3 separate regions of the Homo sapiens genome follow, and all the other regions are linked to region 1. The links are contacts of gene promoters, found by promoter capture Hi-C in blood cells and fetal thymus (Javierre and others, 2016). All regions are on one chromosome and are shown on one strand. The core of a region is centred on a gene start or on the middle of the fragment in contact, and the rest is flanking DNA. Distances in the headings are between cores, read along the strand shown. Region 1 holds the start of LINC00853 (long intergenic non-protein coding RNA 853). Region 2 overlaps STIL (STIL centriolar assembly protein). Region 3 overlaps STIL (STIL centriolar assembly protein).

Region 1 (2,693 bases), core at 145-2,644:
TTACTGTTGAGGACATTTTTGCTCTTCCTGGAACAGGGCTTGCACCTTGTTTTCCCCTCTCCCACCTAAAACATGTAAGTTTCATAGGGTTACATTATAGGTTATACCCAAACTCAGGCAGAAAAGAAAAGCCTCCACCCAGCAACTGCACAGTTGAGGGAAGACTGCAGCACTGCTTACTTCATTTAGACTTGAAGAGGAACTTCCAGCCAGGAGTTGGCTTTGAAAACAGGCTGTGGAGTTCCGTCTCCAGAGTGCCAGGTGGTCAAGGGGAGTTTCAAGATTACTGCCGTCATACTCAGAGTGACACATGCAGAAATACTATCTGTTTATTGTGCTTCAAGGATCCATTAGATCAGGACTATTGCTGGGCAAAGCCTCTTCCCGCAGCCTAGGGGTAGTAAAGGTGGGGGTAGAGGTGCTGGGGCTGGGGCCAGAATCACACACAGTCTGCTCTGGCCTCTACCCACCTTCACAGGGAAGTCAGGTGGCTGAAGCCAGCAGAACTTGCTCTGGGACCAGGGTGGAGGCACCTGCCTCCCATCCAGACCTGGCTGGAGGGTCTTGACTCCCTAGCTTGGCTCTCCTCCCAGGGTTTTTTTTTTTTTTTTTTTTTGTCCCTGGCAGTGCAGGGGTGGCCAAAAGCTTGAGCTTGGGAATCATGCCGATTGGTTCAAATTCCAGCCTGCTCCTCGATGCTTGTGGGATCGCCTAGCCTTTCAGATCTTCCATTCCTTTGCCGGTAAAATTGGCTCTATAGTACATTCCTTGCAGGGCTGCTGGGAGGAAACAGAGATGACATCCGTGTTATTATTGCTCCTGAGACTTGCCAGAAAGCCCTCCATGATCAGCGTAGATGCCATTTCTTCCCAGATGCTCCTTTCCCCACTCCTGGGTTCAGCACTTCCTCCGGGCAACTTCAGCCCCTGCTCCTCCCTCTCTTTGCACCCGCCCCACCTGCCCCACTCACTCCACCCACCCCAGGGTGCTGTCTACTTGTCTGCATCCTGCTCCTGCCCTGGGTCTGGGAGCTCCTCAAGGGCAGGAATGGAGTGACTTCCCTCTCTGTGCACCCAGGACAGGGCTGGACAGGAGAAGGGAAGCCCAAGGAGTGGTGAAGAGCCCCGAAGGAAGGGACTAAACTCCAGCCATCTGTCCCGCGGTGTCTGTTCATACTCCTCCTCCGTGCACGGGCTCAGACATACATATGCGCATATGCTCTGTCTCTTTCTGGTTGAAGGTCCTGGGAGCCCTCCGGAACTCTGCTGCCTGGCAGTCCTTCAGTTTCGGGAGCTTTTCTGTCTGCCCGTGGCCTCGGCTGCCACCTGGTGGCTGCACGCTCCAAAGGAAGCGTAGATTGATGAGAGCCTCGGAAGTTGAGCTTCAGGCGCGGCTCTTCCCCGTCACACTGGGACCGGACGCATTTCCATGGCGTGGTCCCAGGAACCTCTCAGGTCATGCCAGCAACTGGGACTTCCTGTGGAATGCAAGGGCAGTGGGGCCTCCGCGAGAGAGAGAGAGAGAGAGAGAGAGAGAAGAGAGAGATATTAAGGATGAATCCCAGTGTCTGCTCTGAGCAAATTGGAAGACGATGGCATCAGGGGCACTGCTCTGGGCTATATAGACTGTGCCTCCACTAAAGGGTCCCTGAGACCAGGTGTGGGCCCGTATCCCTGGAGGGAGAGGTAACTTCCTCTGATTCGAAGGCATCATATAGGCTAGTGAATGGCACTGAGAATGGCAGATGCCAGGGACAAGCAGGAGCATGTGTGGGATGAGGATGCGGCGTGGATGTGTGACGTTTCAGAGCCTGCAACACATCCGTAGGGAAGTCCTGGAGGAGCAGTTGGGTGCATGGTGGAGTTCTGAAACAGCTGGGCAGTCGGCACTTGAGCCAGAGATTCTGCTTTCGACCTGGATGCCCATTGAGAGGTTAAGAGCTCAGGTCTGGGTCAGGCAGCTTGGAAGCAGCACAGCTTGGACACTTGGTAGCCTGGGACTGTGGTTAAATCAACGTGACTCTCGGAGCTCCAGTTCACTGTAAATTAGGGCAGTAAATGATGTCTACATGATAAGTGGTGTTATGAATGTTAAACATTCACATGAAATACATAGAATAGTGCTTAGCATACAGTACACAATAACTGTTAGCTATTTGGAAAATTACTATTGTTATTATGATTATTTATTACAGAGTGAACTGAATTGGATGCAAGATCACGGTGCGTCAGAGCTAGCAAGATCCTTAGGATCATTTAGCCTGGTTTACTAATATTACACTATGGAATTTAAGCCCAAGGAATGGAGAGTACCCGACGAGCGTTATGTAAGGAGTCGAGTGAGAAGTAAGCTGGATGCTCTGCTTGGCTGGCAGGTACAGAATGTGCCAGACCCATCTGTACCAGCCTGGATCTCTTGAGGCATCAGCACAATGGACCTGGCCACACCAGTTTATTCCACACCGCTGAGGCTGGTACAGTTCTGGACATGGACTTTGTAAATAAATAACTGGGCCTTTGGTCAGTTCTAGCTGTGAGCTTGGAGGTATGGGGTGGGATGGTGAGGACAGGTGGGGGCAAAGTGAGGAAAGGGGCAGGGAGGAGAGGGGAGAGAGAAAAAGGGGAATGAGACAGGCTGAGCTAGTGAGCTGGAATTGGAGGTTGGGAACAGGCTTTCCTTGATGGTGGTGGTGC
Region 2 (2,693 bases), core at 89-2,588, 120 kb before region 1:
ATTTTTCTTTACTTTTCTTTTAGAATCTCCCCTCAGGCAAAATTTTCCTTCTGCTTCTTAACATCTGTTCCTTGTACTTTTGAGAGATAATCTTATCTTCCCAGTTTTCTGCAAATTCTGCATATTGTAGGAATTCAAAAGAGGTGAAATATAGTAAAAACTGAAAGTGTTTTTTATTATGTCAGCATGGTGTCTTTGTGGAACGTTGAGAAGCTTGAACCAATTTTTGAGTGGATCAGATTAGAAGGAATATAAAATCTTGTAGTTACATCTAGGACCTTGACAGACAAGAAAGTTTAGGTGTAAAGTAATAGAAAATAGATCTATTGAGGTTTTGTACATAAGAGTTACTTGTTAAAAGTAGTATTCTAAGAAGGATAGATTATGGCGGGGAGAGCCTTGAGTCAGCCTAGCTTCAAGATGCTTTTCTGTAATCACACAGGTGTATATTGTAATGGTTTAAGGTGCTATAACTGGGCTGGGTGCAGTGGCTCACACCTGTAACCCCAGCACTTTGGGAGGTTGAGGCAGGAGGATTGCTTGAAGTCAGGAGTTTGAAACCAGCCTGGGCAACAAAGTGAGACCTTGTCTCAATAAAAAATTAAAATAAAAAGTAAAAAAAAAAACAAAATAAGGAAAAAAAAACGGTGCAATAATTGGAGCAGACTGCCTAGGGAATCAAATCCTGATTCTAGTACTTATTTATGCAACCTCAGTAAAGTAGCCAAGGATCAGTTTCCTTATTTATAAAATGACTATAATAATACCAGTTTCACAGTTCTCTTGTAGGGGTTAAATAAGACTCTGTAAAGCAATTGTCACAGTGCCTGGAATAGAAAGTATTTCATAAATGGCATCTATTATACATTATAAGGACTTAGAGCAATGTAGCAGTATTCAGATCAAGAGGAAAGAATGAAACAAGGTGTTTTGAATAAATAATTTGTAGTATTTGATGATTGACTGAATAGAGGAACTGAAGGAAAGATACAAGAAAGAAAGTATTCGGGTTCAACACTAGTTGGCAGAGAAGGGTGGTACCATTGACAAAAATAGGGAGAGTCTTATGGAAGTTCAACTAAATAATGGTTAGTCCTGTTTTTATTTTTTTTATTGTTGTCTTTCTGTACATTTTGAGTAGTTTCCTTTGTTTTTCAAGTCTGCTTATTTTCTCTTTAGCTGTGCTTAGCTGCCATCTAACCTATTCATTTAAGTTTGGTTGTTTTTTTTGAGAGGAGTTTTGCTGTTGTTGTCCAGGCTGGAGTGCAGTGGCGTGATGTTGGCTCACTGCAACCTCCGCCTCCCATGTACAAGCGATTCTCCTGTCTCAGCCTCCCAAGTAGCTCGAATTACAGACATGTGCCACCACGCCTGGCTAATTTTTTTGTATTTGGTAGAGATGGGGTTTCACCATGTTAGTCAGGCTGGTCACGAACTCCTGACCTCAGGTGATCCACCTGCCTCATCCTCCCAAAGTGCTGGGATTACAGGCATGTGCCACCACGCCTGGCCCTCATTTAGGTTTTTTAAAACGTGGCGGTGTACCATATATATGAGAGGATACTTATAGTATATATGCATAGTTAATAGAATAACAATACACATTTGTGTACCTATCCCCAGTTAATTATATAACTTATTGAATTTTTGCAAATTATATTTTTTATTTCTTTAAGTTCTGTATGGCTTTTTTATTCAAATTTGCCTGGTCTTTTTTCGTAGTATCTTATTCCTGGCTTATATTTTGGTTTTCCTTTTACATTTTTTAAAGCATTTAAATCATACTATATTTTGTATTCAATACAGTAGTTTCCCCCCTTTATGCATGGTTTCACTTTCCATGGTTTCAGTTACCCACAGTATAATACAATAAGGTATTTTGAGAGACAGACCATATTCACACAACTTTTTTACAGTATACTGTTAAAATTATGCTACTATTAATTATTGTTGTTAATCATTTACTGTGCCTAATTTATAAATTAAACTTTATCATAGATACGTATGTATAGGAAGAAACATAGTATATATAGGATTTGTTACTATCTGTGGTTTCAGACATCCACTGGGGGTCTGGAACATGTCTCCCAGAGATAAGGGGGCACTACTGTAATGCTGATTATATCTGAAGCCCATACACAGTATGTAAAGAAACAGATGTGACTGTTTCAATCAAAATTTACTTACAAAAACAGGAGACCTACCTGCTGAGGTTCATAAAGTTAACAAAATGCCTGGAGAACAACTATAGTTTCAGTGTCTGTTTATTGCCATTCTAGTTTCCAAGTGGCCCTCCGTATCCCCTGCCTTTGACCCTGGGATTTCCTGACAATGATCTTTCTGTACATTTTTAAAAATGTGTGTTATAATTTAGACAGCATTTTATGGCAGGAGGTTTTTTTAAGATATGAGGTCTACCATATTCATAAAAGACTTGTTGTTTTTCAGAAATCCAAAGCTTGTGGTGACTGAGAAGACCATCCGACTTGCTTATCGTCATGCTAAGCAGAATAAAAAAAATTCGTCATGCTTTTTACTTGGTTCTCTGACAGCAGACGAAGGTAATACACTTTTAAAAATGGACCAGTGCTCACGCCTGTAATCCCAGCACGTTGGGAGGCTGGAGTGGGAGGATCACTTGAACCTAGGAGTTTAAGACCAGCTTGCATAACATAGTAAGACTCCATCAGTAC
Region 3 (2,693 bases), core at 68-2,567, 100 kb before region 1:
TCAGATACTAAATTAAATGATCTGAGTACTACTGCAACTTATTAAAGGACTTTATTCAATTTCTAGAAGAAAGAAAACACTGGATTACCAAAGGCTTTTCTGGTCTCCCCTTCTATTCTTTAGGTCTTCCCAAAAGTTATCTTCTGGGAAGATGCCAATACATGATCACGACTCTGGTGTTGAAGATGAAGATTTTTCTCCAAGACCAATTCCTAGTCCTCATCCAGTGAGTCAGAAGGTATCACTGATTTTAAAATGCATTCACTTTTGTGGTTAGAGACCTAAGTCTCTTCATGGTTAAAACACTAAATAATACTACCTGAAACCTAAGTATCATTCTTAGATATATCTAGCTATTTCTATCTCTATGGTTATATCTATATATAGAGATATAAGTATTTCACAGTTATATATAATAATTCATATTATATGTAATGATATATACATATGTGTAATATCTATGTAATAAGCATGTATGGTTATTCCTAGAGTAAACTGAGACATAGATTGGTTAAGTTACCTACCCAAGACACACAACTAGTAAGTAGTAAAGCTGGGATTCTATTTCAGGAGGTTTGGTTTTAGAATCTGGTACTTTTAATAACCATATAGACTCAACATTATATACTATCACTAGAGCTTGACATTGGTTTTTATCACTATATTCTGAGAAAACATTATACTTGCTTTCAGAGGTTAATTGCTAAAATTCTTGTCATAATTTTTTTATTGCTACCAACCTGTGGGTCATTTTAGAATTGTTTAATTCTTATTTTAGAAGAAAAAGGAATGGGAAGGATTTTTTAAAGCTAATATCAAATTATAACCAAATTCATCACAGCGAGTATTTTGTTTACTCTTTTTTGCTTTCCACCTCTTAGTTGATATCAATAGAAGGAATAACAGTGAGTGACTTCTTAGTGGAGAAATATTTTGAAACATTTATTGGAAGATTTTACTATTTAAGGTACATAAACATTTGCTACTAGATCTGTGAAAACATTCTGCTTGTGACAATTTTATTTTTTGCAGAGAGGATTTAAAAAGTTATATAAAACAGTTTCTCATATTGTGTTCTGTGATCTTAGCAGTGTTAGTGTTTTAATAAAAAGAGTTCCATTATTAAATAAGTTTGGGAAGTGTTTAGTTTTATTCTTTTAGGGCAAGGACCTTGTTTATTTAGCTTACAATTGCATTCCTAGTGCTTAGCACATAAAACATGCCCAGAAAAAATTAACTGATGGTCTAAATAAAGAATGAACACTTGTTAATATGTAATTAGATATAATTTGGGAAATACTGGTCTGAGGAAAGTAAAGTATACAGTTTCTCCAAAAAAATACTTTTTTTTTCTATTTCTTTCTTATTTGTAGATTTCTAAGATCCAACCATCAGTTCCTGAACTTTCACTTGTGTTGGATGGCAATTTCATAGAATCAAACCCTCTGCCTACTCCATTGGAAATGGTGAATAATGAAAATCCTCCTTTGATTAACCACTTGGAACACTTGAAGCCATTGCAACCCCAGCTTTATGATGAGAAACACAGTCCAGAAGTTGAAGCTGGAGAGCCTTCCTTGAGAGGAATACCAAATCAGTTAAACCAGGATAAACCAGCTCTTTTGAGACACTGCAAAGTAAGACAGCCACCTGCCTATAAGAAAGGGAACCCCCATACCAGGAACAGTATTAAACCATCTTCTCATAATGGGCCATCTCATGATATATTTGAAAAGCTCCAAACAGTTTCTGCTGGAAATGTACAAAACGAAGAGTATCCTATAAGACCCTCCACACTTAATTCTAGGCAGTCTTCTCTTGCCCCGCAGTCCCAACCACACGATTTTGTTTTTTCACCCCATAATTCAGGAAGACCAATGGAACTTCAGATACCTACTCCCCCACTGCCATCTTACTGTTCCACAAACGTTTGCAGGTGTTGTCAGCATCATAGTCATATTCAATATAGTCCGCTAAATTCTTGGCAAGGAGCAAACACAGTTGGATCCATTCAAGATGTCCAGTCTGAAGCCCTTCAAAAGCATTCATTATTTCACCCAAGTGGATGTCCAGCCCTGTACTGTAATGCATTCTGTTCTTCAAGTAGTCCTATAGCCTTGAGACCTCAGGGAGATATGGGCAGTTGTTCTCCCCACAGCAATATTGAACCATCGCCTGTGGCAAGACCGCCTTCACATATGGACTTATGTAACCCACAGCCTTGCACAGTGTGCATGCACACACCCAAGACTGAGTCAGATAATGGAATGATGGGACTATCTCCAGATGCATATCGGTTCCTCACAGAACAAGACAGACAGCTAAGACTACTTCAGGCACAGGTTTGCTTGGTGCTTTCCTAGTTCTATTAATTTCTTGGTATTAAGATTTCTTAAAAACTGGCACCTCTCCTCAGTAATGATGTTTTATAGAAGTATAGAATGTCAGAATTAGGAGGGACCTTGGAAACTGAATTCTAGGCCCTCTTGTTTTACAGGTAAGTAAAATGAGGATTAGAGAGAATAATTTAACCCAATGCCACGTTGCTAGTTAGTAGTAGAACCATCTTATGCATATCCTAACCTACAATAGAATTGTATTTTTATTTTTTGCCTCTAATGAAAAGTCTGTTATAATTAACTAAGCCTTTATATACAGCTAAATATAAAGTCTGGACAGTGGCTTATACTTCA

Evidence for each region. The method cuts DNA at HindIII sites, captures the fragments that hold promoters and counts their contacts. A CHiCAGO score of 5 or more calls a contact.
Region 2: a fragment that was not itself captured here is called in contact with the fragment with the promoter of LINC00853 in region 1 in 2 of 17 cell types (megakaryocytes and erythroblasts); the score reaches 10.8 in megakaryocytes.
Region 3: a fragment that was not itself captured here is called in contact with the fragment with the promoter of LINC00853 in region 1 in 2 of 17 cell types (erythroblasts and megakaryocytes); the score reaches 10.6 in erythroblasts.

The regions. Positions count from the first base shown.
Region 1 is chr1:47,177,951-47,180,643 of GRCh38, reverse strand. It overlaps LINC00853 (long intergenic non-protein coding RNA 853), which reads right to left and starts at 1,394. Exons shown (of 2, transcript NR_047498.1): 1 at 1,206-1,394; 2 at 305-776. It overlaps CYP4A22-AS1 (CYP4A22 antisense RNA 1), which reads left to right and starts at 1,021. Exons shown (of 6, transcript NR_199717.1): 1 at 1,021-1,454; 2 at 2,195-2,519. RefSeq lists an enhancer at 1,022-1,523. The HindIII fragment of the contact is 3,617 bases long and covers 648-2,693 here.
Region 2 is chr1:47,302,102-47,304,794 of GRCh38, reverse strand. STIL (STIL centriolar assembly protein) reads left to right here. Exons shown (of 17, transcript NM_001048166.1): 4 at 2,449-2,561. Among named protein-coding and RNA genes, the nearest start is that of STIL, 11 kb to the left of the region's middle. The HindIII fragment of the contact is 2,245 bases long and covers 216-2,460 here.
Region 3 is chr1:47,279,890-47,282,582 of GRCh38, reverse strand. It overlaps STIL (STIL centriolar assembly protein), which reads left to right. Exons shown (of 17, transcript NM_001048166.1): 11 at 124-238; 12 at 1,374-2,342. Among named protein-coding and RNA genes, the nearest start is that of STIL, 33 kb to the left of the region's middle. The HindIII fragment of the contact is 6,113 bases long and covers 1-2,693 here.